Regions from separate parts of the Homo sapiens genome. Here regions 1, 3, 4 and 5 are each linked to region 2. The links are contacts of gene promoters, found by promoter capture Hi-C in human tissues and cell types (Jung and others, 2019). All regions are on one chromosome and are shown on one strand. The core of a region is centred on a gene start or on the middle of the fragment in contact, and the rest is flanking DNA. Distances in the headings are between cores, read along the strand shown. Region 1 has its middle 130 kb from the start of LINC02654. Region 2 holds the start of C1QL3 (complement C1q like 3). Region 3 has its middle 180 kb from the start of MINDY3. Region 4 overlaps RSU1 (Ras suppressor protein 1). Region 5 has its middle 87 kb from the start of LINC02654.

Evidence for each region. The method cuts DNA at HindIII sites, captures the fragments that hold promoters and counts their contacts. A contact is called where the count stands out against the background at its distance.
Region 1: a contact is called between a fragment that was not itself captured here and the fragment with the promoter of C1QL3 in region 2, in 2 of the 25 tissues and cell types used here (heart right ventricle and hippocampus).
Region 3: a fragment that was not itself captured here is called in contact with the fragment with the promoter of C1QL3 in region 2 in 1 of the 25 tissues and cell types used here (aorta).
Region 4: a fragment that was not itself captured here is called in contact with the fragment with the promoter of C1QL3 in region 2 in 3 of the 25 tissues and cell types used here (H1 embryonic stem cells, heart left ventricle and mesendoderm cells).
Region 5: a contact is called between a fragment that was not itself captured here and the fragment with the promoter of C1QL3 in region 2, in 2 of the 25 tissues and cell types used here (H1 embryonic stem cells and lymphoblastoid cells).

The regions. Positions count from the first base shown.
Region 1 is chr10:16,143,816-16,146,515 of GRCh38, reverse strand. No RefSeq gene overlaps it. Among named protein-coding and RNA genes, the nearest start is that of LINC02654, 130 kb to the left of the region's middle. The HindIII fragment of the contact is 6,202 bases long and covers 1-2,700 here.
Region 2 is chr10:16,520,572-16,523,271 of GRCh38, reverse strand. C1QL3 (complement C1q like 3) reads left to right here and starts at 1,393. Exons shown (of 2, transcript NM_001010908.2): 1 at 1,393-2,700. The coding sequence starts at 2,207. RefSeq lists silencers at 1,453-1,682, 1,953-2,172, 2,483-2,542. The HindIII fragment of the contact is 8,174 bases long and covers 1-2,700 here.
Region 3 is chr10:16,040,697-16,043,415 of GRCh38, reverse strand. No RefSeq gene overlaps it. Among named protein-coding and RNA genes, the nearest start is that of MINDY3, 180 kb to the right of the region's middle. The HindIII fragment of the contact is 6,419 bases long and covers 1-2,719 here.
Region 4 is chr10:16,794,138-16,796,837 of GRCh38, reverse strand. The region is part of intron 2 of RSU1 (Ras suppressor protein 1); the gene reads left to right. Among named protein-coding and RNA genes, the nearest start is that of RSU1, 22 kb to the left of the region's middle. RefSeq lists enhancers at 882-941, 1,152-1,371. The HindIII fragment of the contact is 4,697 bases long and covers 1-2,700 here.
Region 5 is chr10:16,189,825-16,192,524 of GRCh38, reverse strand. No RefSeq gene overlaps it. Among named protein-coding and RNA genes, the nearest start is that of LINC02654, 87 kb to the left of the region's middle. The HindIII fragment of the contact is 5,472 bases long and covers 1-2,700 here.

The DNA.
Region 1 (2,700 bases), core at 66-2,565, 380 kb after region 2:
TTACCCCTCCCTAACTCCTATTTTCCCACAAATGGTTACAATTATTCCATGCTATATAAACCCCTAGTTTTAGTTGGTTATAAGGTGGATTTGAGACTGATCTCCTATTTCTTCAGCTGCAGCACCAGAATAAAGCCTTCTTCCCTGGCAATACTCATTGTCTCAGTGATTGGCTTTCTGTGCAGCAAACAGCAGGACGTAGACCAAAACCCTAGCATTTTGGTAACAAGGGGGAGAGGAGGTACCTGGGAACTCCCTGTACTTTGTGTGCAGTATTTCTACAGTCCTACAACTGCTCTAAAAGTAAGGCCTATTAACACTTTAAAAATAAGTTGCATGACTAGTAGAACAAGTTGAATTGTTTTCATGGTCCAACTTCAAAACATAAGATACATTGACCAATGGATATCTTTCAGGGAGCTGAAGTAAGTGAGCTGAAGTACTGATGTACTTGTATCCTAGTCATTTGAATGAAGGAACAGCTCCTAAAAGTGTCTATCTTAAAGCAGAATTGAGACTTGGGACAAGGAATCTGGCTCGAATATGATTTCCTGCAATATCCTACCTTTATTTCTGTCTGCTACATGAGTAATCACTTAACTAATTACATTAACATTTTTTTCATCGTTGCATTTGGTGAAAAATTTTGGAACTTAAATATGATTATTATACCTTTTGTGATCTGGTAGTATCACTGAAAAAAGTCCGAATTAAGAAAATCTATTATTAATCTGCAAGGAAGTGCTACTGTGCCAATAACAATGTACTCTCTTGCCTGTACACCCAAGAAGTCAACCTGTTCACATCTCAAAATAGTAAAAATATTCACACACAGCTGTCAGCATAAACAAAACTGTGCTCTCTGCATCGCATGGAGAGTGTTAGTAAAAACTAAAAAACGAGCACGGCTGAGCCTGTCTTTACCCAGGGCAAAAAGCTACCCTTTGTGTGTGAATCAGCAGTATACAGAATGTCTGAACAACATGAAACAAAAATGTATGGCTAAGAGATTGCAGTTGAAACTAAAAGTGCTGAGAAGTTCCTATTTGAATTTGGTTTGATTGTAAAATATATGGTACTGGCACTCTACTAAGAATAACAAACCCCTAAATATTGGGAGGGTGGGTTGAGGGCAGGAGGAAATAATCTAATCTAGGGATGATATGATAGGATAATATTTAAAAGTTCACATGAAGTAAATTTTTAGAGATATAAGTTATTAAATGCTTCCGTGCATCATCAAAGTCTGCATAAGAGCACTTGAGCTGTACCTTTTGATAAATGTATTATAGATGAGGACTGTCAGAATCCTTGAAAGTCATGAACCACAAATCGGTGTCCTCCTTAACACACTCCCGTCGTCTCTGATAAAGCTCAGGGCAATTGAGAAGCGGTAGCATGGAGAGACCATTGGTCAACCATCAGCAAATATGCATACTGGCTCCATCCACACCCATCCTCAATTAGTCGTATAGCCTTGAACAAGTCATTTGGATTTTCGGAGATTCAATAGATTCATCCCTAAAGTGGTGACAATTATTATACTAATCAAATGAAATAATGAATGGAATATGAGTTACTGTTCTTAAACACCTACAAGACTGCCTGGAGATAAATCAACTTTGTTTTTTGTCGATGGCCACATAGGTGAAGTTGTGGGTATTAGTTTTTAAGAAAAAGTAATTGCAGGGGGAAGGAACGAGTGATGAAGAGATGGAACATAGGAAACTTTTTCGGGCAGCGACACTGTTCTATATAATGTGTAATCATAGATACATGACATTTGTCAAAATCCACAGAAGCACACAACAAAAAGAGTCGCCCTTCATATGAACTGTGGGGTTTAGTTAATAATTATGTCTCAGAATTGGCATATCAGCTGTAACAAGGTAACCCACTAATGCAGGCTGTTAACATAGGGGGAGGGAGGGATGGATATGGGCTATGGGAACTCTCTGTACATTCTGCACAATTTTTCTGTAAACCTAAAACCACTCTAAAAATTGCACAAACTTAAAAACTTGAATTCATGTCTGTCAAAAAGAGAATGAGGATGCAAGGAGGAAGGGGAGGATAGGAAGGAAAGATAAATCAGAGAGTGAAAGGAAGAAAAAGCAGGACAACAGCTGGATAAAGAGACAGCTGCCAAACCGGAGGGGTGAAAAATGGGATAGGTAGAAGAAAAAGCCAAAGATGAAAGGGGAGAGTGCAAAAGAGGAAAACTAAGTAAGAGGAAGGGAGAAGGAGTCAGAAGCAGATTGAGTGCCAGCTGGCCATCACACTTAGGTCTAGCTTATGGCTGGGTGTGTGTGACCACTATTGCCTTAAAACCCCATTTTGTCTATTCTAGAGCAGAGTGATTCAACTTGGGGACAGCTCCCCACACAGGTATTCAGGGACTTTCTGTGGGATTCACTGCTTAGGGTGATTTTAAAGTTAATGATCTCAAAGTTACTGATTTTCAGGTCTTCAAGTTCACTTTTCCTATATTCCCTTTTCTCACAACCTTCTTGGAATCCATAAAAGAAAGCCATCCTCTTCCCCATCCTGATGCTTCCCGCGCTGCATTTCTTGGGCTGTTATTAAAAAAGTGAGGAAGGCAAATAAAAAGCAAATTCAAAATATTTCTTGGGAGGTTATACTTTTAAGGATCAAATTCACCATAAAACCATAAGCCTTACATTCTTTCCCTGACTTACA
Region 2 (2,700 bases), core at 144-2,643:
AAGAAAGAACTAAATTGGTGGGGTGGACTGGAGTAGGCTGGGGGGCGGGGAGATTGAGGCACAGGGAGGAAAGGAGAAGTCCATGCTGTGACACCCGCAGACAAGATCACAGGCTGCTGATCGTCACCCAGGATGTTACTGTTTGCTTGCTGTAGTCTTATTTGTTCCTGCTTTTCTCATTTCAGATTCTCACCCTGATGTAATAAGTCACCGTCTTCCCAGCCATCATCCTCGTATTGACAAGCAAATGTCACCCACGTTTGATTGACATCTGTTGCTCCTGAATGCAAAAGTATGATTTAGGATTCAATTCTACTTATTTATTTAAAGCCATTCTTGTGTGTCTTATGTATTTGTTGGTGGGGTAACTTGCCTGATATCTACCCTGGAGGCCTTCCAGTAATATGATAAACCATGCTGTTCCTTCTGCAGCTCACCCACTGAGAATGGGGGCTCTTCTTTCTTGTATTTCTCCTACTTCTCCCCTCCCTCAATGTATATTCGGGAAATCTGCTATGGAGCTTATAGAACTCTTTCCATATGCTAGGAAAAGACCTTGCCCAGCACTTGTGCAAAAGCTTCTTGCTTGATCTTTTGACGCCATTTTGACAAGTGGTTATTTCTTGTACATTTAGCGACTTTAAGTAAACGCAACTTCAGGGCCATTGGCGGTATCCCCCGAAAGACTGCTAGAACTGTAAGACTGTAAGCACAGTACGTATGTATGCACTCACCACGGTGCAGCATTTGTAAAAAGGACCAACCCCCTCCTCCCCCAGAGGCGGTGGACATGTTCATTTAAAATCATTCACAAATGTTCTTTGGCTTTTCAACATACCTCACTGTTCTTGGGGCAACATCTTATTCATTTACAAGGCAGAGGAGGAAAACCATCAGGTTAAAAGAAAATCACATCTACCATCTGGAAAATTCTAAAAGGCCCTCCTTCTGTTAACAGTGGCATTTTGAAAACACCTGAAGCACTGATTGTAGAGGAGCTAGCAAAGAAACTGTCAACTCAGCCACCCTCCTTTCAACCTTCACCTCCACCCTCCAACTGGGGCTGCTGGCAGTGGGGAAATCGGGGATTTAGGTGTGACCCTTGAGCTCTGAAAGCTGTCGCACAGCTGTCTCCCTTCCCCAGGTGGGTCCAGCAGGACCTGCCATCGCTTGGTTCAGCAAGGGAGTATTCAGAATCTCACTGTTCATCCATGTGCAGAGAGAGAAAAAAAGAGAGGCCGAAAAAAAAAAAAAAATCCCACATTGTCAGAGTAATGCCAAACTCTCTCTGAGTGGGATGAGCAGAGCAGATGCTGCAATGAGATGCCAAAGCGGCTCCCCTTCCTCTGTGCCTTGGGTGCCTATAAATTGCTCCGGCGCGCGTTTGTCAGCCTCCTCTTCTCCTGGCAGGTGGTACCCAGGCAGAATTCTGCCTTCAGTCTCTCTCTCGCTCCGCTCCCGGCCGTGAGGCGCTCGCCGCTGCTCGCTCGCTCCTCCGCCCCAGCTCTGAGCCTCGCCGTGCCGACCGTGCCCGCCGCCGCCGCCGCTGGGCGCACCCGGGGGACGCCCGGGCCCACGCGGGGCTTTGGGGTGCGCGTCTATTCGAGTTGTGGTGGTGGCAAAGGAGGAAGAGAGAAAGGAGGCAATAAAAAAAAAAGGCAGCGGACGGGCGAACTGAGCGAGCGAAAGAAGAGGAGGAGGAGGCAGAAAAAGGCAACTTCAGACGGAAAGTTGGTGCGAACAGGCGCAGTCTGCAAAAACGGAAAAGTCGATCGCAGGCGGCGGCGGCATAAAAGTGTGAGCTGCCCGGGCGAGCTCAGGAGGCGGCGGCTGGCTCTGCCCTCCCGGTGGCCGCGCCGGCGCCGGCTGCAGCCACAGGTGCGAAGGAGCTCGCGGGGGGCGAGGGCGCCCCGCGCACCCCTCCCCCGGCCCCCACCCCGGGCTCGGGACTTCGGCTCAAGTCACTGGGCGCCCGCGCTCCCTCCCCAGCCGCAGCCTCCGCGGGGGGAGCAGGAGTCGGCAGCAGCGGCCGGCGCACGCACGCCCAGGGGAGTTGGGGTTCGCAGGGGGTTGTTTTCGGCTCTGAAGAGGTCCCCGCCCAACCTTCAAAATTCTGTCCAAAAGCAGACAAGAGGATCGCCCCGCGCTGAGCCGGCTGGTGGGCAGCAGGAGGCGCCTGATCGCCGCCGGGGCGCTGGGGGTGGTGATGGTGCTGCTGCTGGTGATCCTCATCCCGGTGCTGGTGAGCTCGGCCGGCACGTCGGCGCACTACGAGATGCTGGGCACCTGCCGCATGGTCTGCGACCCCTACGGGGGCACCAAGGCGCCCAGCACCGCTGCCACGCCCGACCGCGGCCTCATGCAGTCCCTGCCCACCTTCATCCAGGGCCCCAAAGGCGAGGCCGGCAGGCCCGGGAAGGCGGGTCCGCGCGGGCCCCCCGGAGAGCCCGGGCCACCCGGCCCCATGGGGCCCCCGGGCGAGAAGGGCGAGCCGGGCCGCCAAGGCCTGCCGGGCCCGCCCGGGGCGCCCGGCCTGAACGCGGCCGGGGCCATCAGCGCCGCCACCTACAGCACGGTGCCCAAGATCGCCTTCTACGCCGGCCTCAAGCGGCAGCATGAAGGCTACGAGGTGCTCAAGTTCGACGACGTGGTCACCAACCTCGGAAACCACTACGACCCCACCACCGGCAAGTTCACCTG
Region 3 (2,719 bases), core at 148-2,647, 480 kb after region 2:
TTTTGTCATAGATGAGGAAACCGAGGCTTCCAGAAATAACTTGCCCAAGATTATGTTGTAAATAACAGTAGGGCTGCGATTCAGACCCAGGTCATCTGACTTCAGAGTCCAAGCCCTTTCTAGTATGCTAAGTAGTGATATTGCCTACAGTTTGTTCCATGTAAGGATAGAGGTGATGTCAGCTCTAAGCCATCTTATGCCCTAAATCATCTTAGAACCAGTCATCTAAACGGTAAATGAAGCCCCATTTGTTGATGTTAGAATACAACAAGATGATCTTTTTGAAAGAAAGATGGTGAATTCCACTTTGGACATGTGGACCATTTAAGAGGAGACGTTCAGTTGACATTGGATGTAGGGTCTAGAGAACGAGAAAGAAAAGTGGGCTGTGATATGGATCTTGAAAACTCTAGGTATAGATGGTAATTAAAACTATTGGAATGGAAGAGTCTTCTCTCAGCAAGGATATAGCTGTAACTTGAATGATGACATGACAGTGTTAAAAAAAAGTCAATCCTACTTATATTTAGCTTGTAGCTTTGTAACTACTATCATATCAGAGAAAAAAAGAAAGGAATGCCATATTCTTGAAGTACTACCCAGTGAACAACAAAATTTTTTTGTTGTAGTTTGCTACATGTTATATAGTGATAAAACATGACATTTAGACTTAAGCACTTTAAATAGTCCCTTGGGCTATATTCAGGGCACAGAACAGCTGTATGGGTAATTAAATAAAGCTAATTTAAATAAATTAGATTTACCAGAAAATCACTCAAAGTTTGCATTCATGAAAGTTTTTTTATGCAAAAAGTTGTTAATGCTATTTCTTCAAACTACATACCTTGAAAAATGGTGGGCTCTGGGACAAGAAATACATCTTAAAGTAGTAAAAATGAAAAGATTTTTCTCCTGATTTCATCCTGAAGGTGTAATCTTACTGATATTTTACACAGATGAATTGCAAGAGAAAGTTTTCAACATAATTGTCACTGAAGCATCAAGCAAAACGATAAAATAGAATAAAATATGCTTCTTTTAGTTTCTTTCACTGCATATATTTTACATACTACACATGCATCTTAGAAATGACATTACCCTTATTTTCAACAAAAGCTACCTCCTGAATATACTTTTATATCAGAATTTATATGAGAACTTATATTCTAGAAATTGGTCAGTTGTTACCTTTGTTTCTGGGCTTGAAAAGGGGGATGTTGATTTAGCAGTGCTAAGAATTTTTGGAATAAAAATGAGCCTATAACTACTTTTAATGTTCCTGACTGCAGGGCTGTTAGAATGTAATCATCAAAGGCTAGGAAATTGTTTTCATCAAAAAGCTGTAAGGAATATTTCTGGGAACCAAGGTGAATTAAGGTTTGACCTTTTAAAATATTGTCTTTCTTGACATCCTCTCTCACAGATACTTGTTTTCAGGTTTCAGGAATGAAGCGCATTGATCCTGTTCCTAGAGATCAGTCATAGGGGTAAACAGAAGGCTCTCTGATTTATGACTAACCTGCTGATAGTTCCTTGGAGAGGTCCACCATGCTCAGATTGAGAACCGTTTGAGGAACCGGGAATTCAGACTTTGCAAGGGAAACTGCCCGATTCAGTCCCCATTTCAGAAATGAAAGCTACTGCAATTTGAAATTGATTAGAGCCCAATATAAAGAAATCAAATACCTAGCCAATCCATAATAAAGAAATTTTTTTCTGGCCTTATGTATGACTAATCTCATTTCTTTTAAAAATGGGCATAGTGCAAGTGTTTAAAAATGCACTTGAATCTGAAGATGGAGAGGTACATTCCGGCTATTTCACTTAATCCTATTCTAGAACCAGTAGTCAGGGGAAAACTTAAGCCACCGAAGAGCTTCAAGAAAAATGTTTCAAAACAACTGAATGAATGGTCTATCATCAGCTATCAGTGTGATTTCACAGCAACTGTACGAAAAGACAATATTGTGTTCTATGTCTTTGTTAGTCATATTAAGTGTCATGGATATAAAATAAAGCAAATGCAGTAATTACATACAATATATTAATCAAATATCATTTCTCAATGCAAGTCATCCAAATTGAGGTTTATAAAAAAGTTCTTTATTTTAGGAAGTACATATCACATTTACATACCATATGCTTGTATGTCAGAAAGCGAGATGTCTCATTTGATTTGAATAAAATAGATATATATCAAATTATATATATATAATATAGATTTATATATATAATACATATAAATACTTTGTGTATATAGACTCTTGCCCTGAGCACATTTGTATTAAATAAAAATTTTTCCAAAAGTTGGAATAACATATTTAGTTTTTGTTTTCTCTTTTTTTTGAGACAAAGTCTTGCTCTGTCGCCCAGGCTGGAGTGCAGTGGCACGCTCTCAGCTCACTGCAACCTCCGCCTCCTGGGTTCAAGCAATTCTCCTGCCTCAGCCTCCTGAGTAGCTGGGATTACAGGCGCCTGCCACCATGCCCAGCTAATTTTTGTATTTTTAGTAGAAACGAGGTTTCACCATGTTGGTCAGGCTGGTCTCGAACTCCTGAGCTAGTGATCCTCCCACCTCGGCCTCCCAAAGTGCTGGGATTACAGGCATGAGCCACCACTCTCGGCCTGCTTTCTCTTTTAATCAGAGCACACAACAAAGCAGTTATGTTGCTACTTCCTTCAAATTCCTCTCAATATGAATGTAAATTTAATTTTTTTC
Region 4 (2,700 bases), core at 90-2,589, 270 kb before region 2:
TAGTTTTGTTGTAAATTGTGTCCTTGAATTTTTTCTTGCTGCCTAGTTTCTCTATTTTGATGTAGGGTTTCAGGATTCCTAAAATCTGCCATGCTGCCTCCACGTTTCCTGCACCTACACTTTTTCCTCCTTGGTACAGTGGGAAAAATAAGCTTCTCCTCAAATGAAGGATAATGTGTATGTAGTATCTGATGCAGACCAGGTACTCAAAAAATGATCATTGTGATGAACAGTTTGACAATTTCATACTTGTTGAGCAGTGGCATAGTCTGTTTTGAAGCTGCCATTGTGGGAGCTCTGATAAGAGGGGGATTTAGGGGTGAAGAGTCTAATGGGCCTTTGGGGTGAGGAAAGAACAAGAGGGTGAGGGTTTGTGGGTGTCATTGATGGCAGATTTGTTTGCAGTGTTGAGAGAAAGGTGGAGGGAATGGACTGGAGCAGGACTGGGAGAAGAGACATCACACACAGTGAAGACGTAGCGAGGCCCTGGAGCAGATCAGAAGAAACACACCTAAGTTTGACTTAGGGGCTGATTGATGATCAATGTCAATCTAGGTGACTGGTTATAGGATTGGAGAAGGCAACACTTGGAGGCCAGGATAAGGGATGACATGTGGGGAGAGAATCAAAATCCAAGGTTAAAAATAATGGTTGAGCTGCCTACGAGACCAAATCATGTTTTGCCTTCGGGTAAGAGCAGGTGGCACACCATGGTCTTCTAATATTTAGTGACTGTTGAGGGACTTAGAACTCTTAGAGCTCCAAGAGTCATGTGGCTTTTGTACAGACAGCAGGTTTAGGATTCCAGCTCCTCCTGCTTGAAAAGAAGGTTTACTTTTCCCAGGGAAATGTGGGGCCAGGTTCAGGTGAGAAGTATGGGGGAAGGTTGAGGCGGACGCAGAGAGCTGCTGCTCAAGCGGAGAATGGAGAGTGATAGAGAAACGTCTGACATCAGCCCCTGGGAAGAGGGTGCCGGTGCCTCACCTGGGCGGCTTGTTTAGGGGTCCGGGGGGTTGAAGATACACCCAATTTTCTGAAATGCAAAGTGTGCACAGTTAATACTGCTCATGTCTTAACTTTGGCAAAAAAACAACCTGTGTACTTAAACTCCTTGTCTTTTGAACATCATAAAATGCCATGCAGTTGGCAAATTGTGGATGCAACCGGTGGCATATTTGTTTAGCCAGTAAGACAGTATCAGAATTAATCAGCTTCTTGTTTGGAAACAGCTTTTAGGGGGTTCTCTCTGCTTACTAGTTCTGAAATCACAGACAAGTTACATAACCTCTTGTGTCTCATTTTTCTCATCTAAAATTGAGAGGGAAGAAGAGACTACTATTGCCTTGTAGGGTTATCGTGAGAAATAGGTGAATTGATAAAGTTCTTAGAACTGTGCCAGTCATGTTTTAAGCATTTGGTAAGCATTAGCTATTGTTGTTTGTTATTACCTTATTTTTTTTTAATTTTTTTTTTTTTTTTTTTTTGAGATGGAGTCTCACTCTGTCGCCCAGGCTTGGGTGCAGTGGCGCGATCTCGGCTCACTGCAACCACTGCTTCCTGGGTTCAAGCAATTCTCCTGCCTCAGCCTCCCCAGTAGCTGGGATTACAGGCACCCACCATCACACTTGGCTAATTTTTGTATTTTTAGTAGAGATGGGGCTTCACCATGTTGGCCAGGCTGGTCTCGAACTCCTGACCTCAGGTGATCTGCCTGCCCCGGCCTCCCGAAGTGCTGGAAATACAGGCATGAGCCACCACGCCGGGACTGTTCTAACATTTTTGATTCTAGTGAACACATATGTAAAGTGCTCAGCACAACACAGTGATGTAGTGGTCATTACATAAATAATCTTTTTTCTCTCTTTTATTTGTTTCATTTTAAAGATGAGGAATTTGTGCTCCAGAACAATCCAGTGATTTTTCTCAGGATCTCATGGGATGACAGGGCAGGTCTCACCTGCTAGGAACTGTGCGTTCTTTGCTTTGCTTTTGTGTCTTATTTTATTCTAGATAGGAAGGAATTTTCCATTCAGGTTTATATTATTTTTATTATGGTTGGAATTGCTGTCATAAAGGACATTCCATCCAGGTGTCAATAATAATTTTCCAGTTTGCAAAGAAGAAGCTCAAGATTTAGAATCTGGAAACCTTGATTGTACTCTGTTCTGATTCTGCTGGCCCGTGGAATCTTAGAATACCTTTACTTCTCTGGCCCACTGTTTTCTTATCTGTAAATTGAGGAGCTTAAGTTGTTTGATTTCTAGAGTTCCTTTGGCTCCAACATTCTATAACCATGATTTCTAAAACTGCATAAGTTTTGTGTTACACAAATAAAATAGTTTATGCTAGAAAAATTAGTCAATACAAACAAGCTAAAAAGAAAAAAGAAGAGACAGAGGAGGAAGGTAGTTAGAAATAAAACAAAATGGACTCTGGTCCTTGAAGGTTTTATTAACCCTAAAAAAATTTTCAGGCACTTCCCTTTTAATGGGAGTTTCAAAGCACCTTAGTACTTTTATGGTACAAGTCTGCCTGTCAGAGTTCTCCAGAGAAACAGAATCCATAGGCAATATATATATGGAGATTTATTATGGAAATTGGCCCAGGTGATTATGGAGGCTAAGAAGTCACATGATGTGCTGTCTGCAAGCTGGAGAACCTGGACAGTTGGTAATGTAATTTAGTGCAAGGCCAAAGGCT
Region 5 (2,700 bases), core at 57-2,556, 330 kb after region 2:
ACACTATCAGCCCTGCCCCAGTTTAAGGCCTTCAGACTCAAACTGAGTAACACTACCAGCCTTCCTGGTTCTCCAAGGTTGCAGATTGCAGAGTGTGGGACCTGTTGGCTTCCATAATCATCTGAGCCAATTACCATAATAAACCCATACCCCTGGATTCTCCTCTACTTAAGGGTTATAGCCCCGTAAGTCATGTTTATTGTGGAAATGTGAAAATGCATTTAATACACCTAACCTACCTACCATCATAGCCTACCTTAAACATTCTCAGAACATTTATATTAGCCTATAGTTGGGCAAAGCATCTAACACAAAGCCTATTTTATAACAATCTGTTAAATATCTCATGTAATATATTGAATATTTTATTAAAATATACCACTTTTATACCATCAGTAAGTTGAAAAATCGTAAGTGAAACCATCATAAGTTGGTGACTGTATGTCTGTGTATATATATATATGTGTGTGTGTGTGTGTGTGCACATAGATACCTATCTATAGATCTCTACATAGGTTCTGTTTCTTTGGAGAAACCTAACTAATACAGATTTTGGTACTGAGAGTGTTTATAGAGCAATCAAATTTTAATAATGACTTTCTTAATTAGATCTAGGGTTTCTGGAATTGGCTTTCACATCTGATTAGATTTAAAGGCAATAGTGATGCTATTTCCAGTGGTAAAGAGAGCACTGATCGTCTAAGCCATCATCTGTTTATAGAGACATGCATATTATCTGCACTGGATACTCATAATTAACTACTTACAAGAAGCAAGGAGTTTGGTGACTCTGTATATGATTGATACTTTTGGACATTTTTTGAATACTAAGGAACATAATGATGTCAGATGGTTGTTTCTAATGTTATTGGAAAAAGTGTTGAAATAAATGAATGAACTCAAGGATTTGAATTCCCAGCTCAAGAGACTCATAAATGAACCTGGGCAACGTGGCAAAACCCCGTCTCTACTAAAAATACAAAAATTAATCGGGTTTGATGGTACATGCCTGTAGCCCCAGTCACTCGGAAGCCTGAGGCATAAGAATTGCTTGAACCTGGGAGGTGGAGGTTTTAGTGAGCCGAAATTGCACCATAGCACTCCAGCCTAGGTGACACAGCAAGAGTCTGTGTCAAAAAAAAAAAAAAAAAAAAGAGAGAGTGAGAGAAAGAGACCCATAAATGACCTAAGAGTTTCTAAGTGTCCTCTGAAGGAGGGCATTATCACTTGTAGCCACAGGGTGGAAATTGCTGAAAATTAAGAACTTCGTCCTGCAATTGGCTGAATTTTAATGCGAGATGAAGTCCCAGCTCTACAGGGTGACTGCTGTTAAAGTGAGGGCAACTTATTGGGGAAAAAATGTAAGTTGGGATGGGGGCCTGTGGAAATACCCTGACGCAGCTGGGGACACTAAGCCCCTGAATTATGATGAATCTTCTTTGACATTGAAAGCAGTCTCCCCACACCAATGGAAGTGGCTGCCCTACCCCAGGTGGAATTGGGTCCCCGCTACCACAGTGGTATCAGCTTTTCCGCCACCATCTGAGAGTACTAATACTGAGGAAAAGGGTAATGGCCTCCCCTGAGGCAGCTGCCACGTAAGATAATGCTGATTATCCTCAGTATCCACCCTGCTACCGCTCTTTTCTTCTAGACTTGTAACAAGACTCAAGTCTCAGCAGACCCCTAAAGATAAGGTACAAAATATGACTTATGCGGAGATGTACTACATGCCAAAAGAACTACTTGAATTCTTGAATTTTCTTTATCTTTTTTTTTTTTTTGAGATGGAGTCTCGCTTTGTTGCGCGGGCTGGGGTGCAGTGGTGCAATCTCAGCTCACCAACCTCCACCTCCCAGGTTCAAGCCATTCTCCTGCCTCAGCTTCCTGAGAAACTGGGTTTACAGGTGCACACTACCACATCTGGCTAATTTTTGTATTTTGAGTACAGATGGGGTTTCTCCATGTCAGCCAGGCTGGTTTTGAACTCCTGAACCTCGTGATCCACCCTTCTCAGCCTCCCACAGTGTTGGGATTACAGGCGTGAGCCACCGCGCTCAGCTTAACTACTTGAATTTTCTAATTCACACAAGCAAAAATCTGGGGGACATACATAGAATAGATATTAAGGGTATAGGGTAATGGTGGAAGGAACATAAAGTTGAATTGGGCTGAATTTATTGATATGGACTCACTAAGAAGAGATTCTGCATTTAATGTTCCAGTTCAGGGAGTTAGAAAGGGCTCTTTCAGTTTGTTTGGTTTATTGCTGAAACATGGATCAAAAGATGGCCCAGTATGAGCGAATTAAAAACGTTGGATCTCCCTTGATTTAATATGGAGGAAGAGATTCAAAGGCTTAGAGACACCGGAATGTTAAATTGGATTTATCATTGAAGACCTACTTACCACCCACATGGGCAGGGTCTAGAAGGCATACCATTTACCAATACTTTCAGAAATAAATTTGTGAGGGGAGCCCTAGTATCCTTGAAGAGTTCCATGATTGCTGTTCTCTGTAGGTCAGACATTTCAGTGGTAACCCCAGGTTCTTGCACTCTCCCAGGATAGAAATCAAAAGAGATCACTGAACACAAGCAGCAAACATTAAGTTTAAGTTTATTCCACCTTGTGCACAAGGGAGCTAGCCCTGAGAAAGGAAAAACAAGTGAACTGTTCCCCAAGGACAGTATGTGAGTT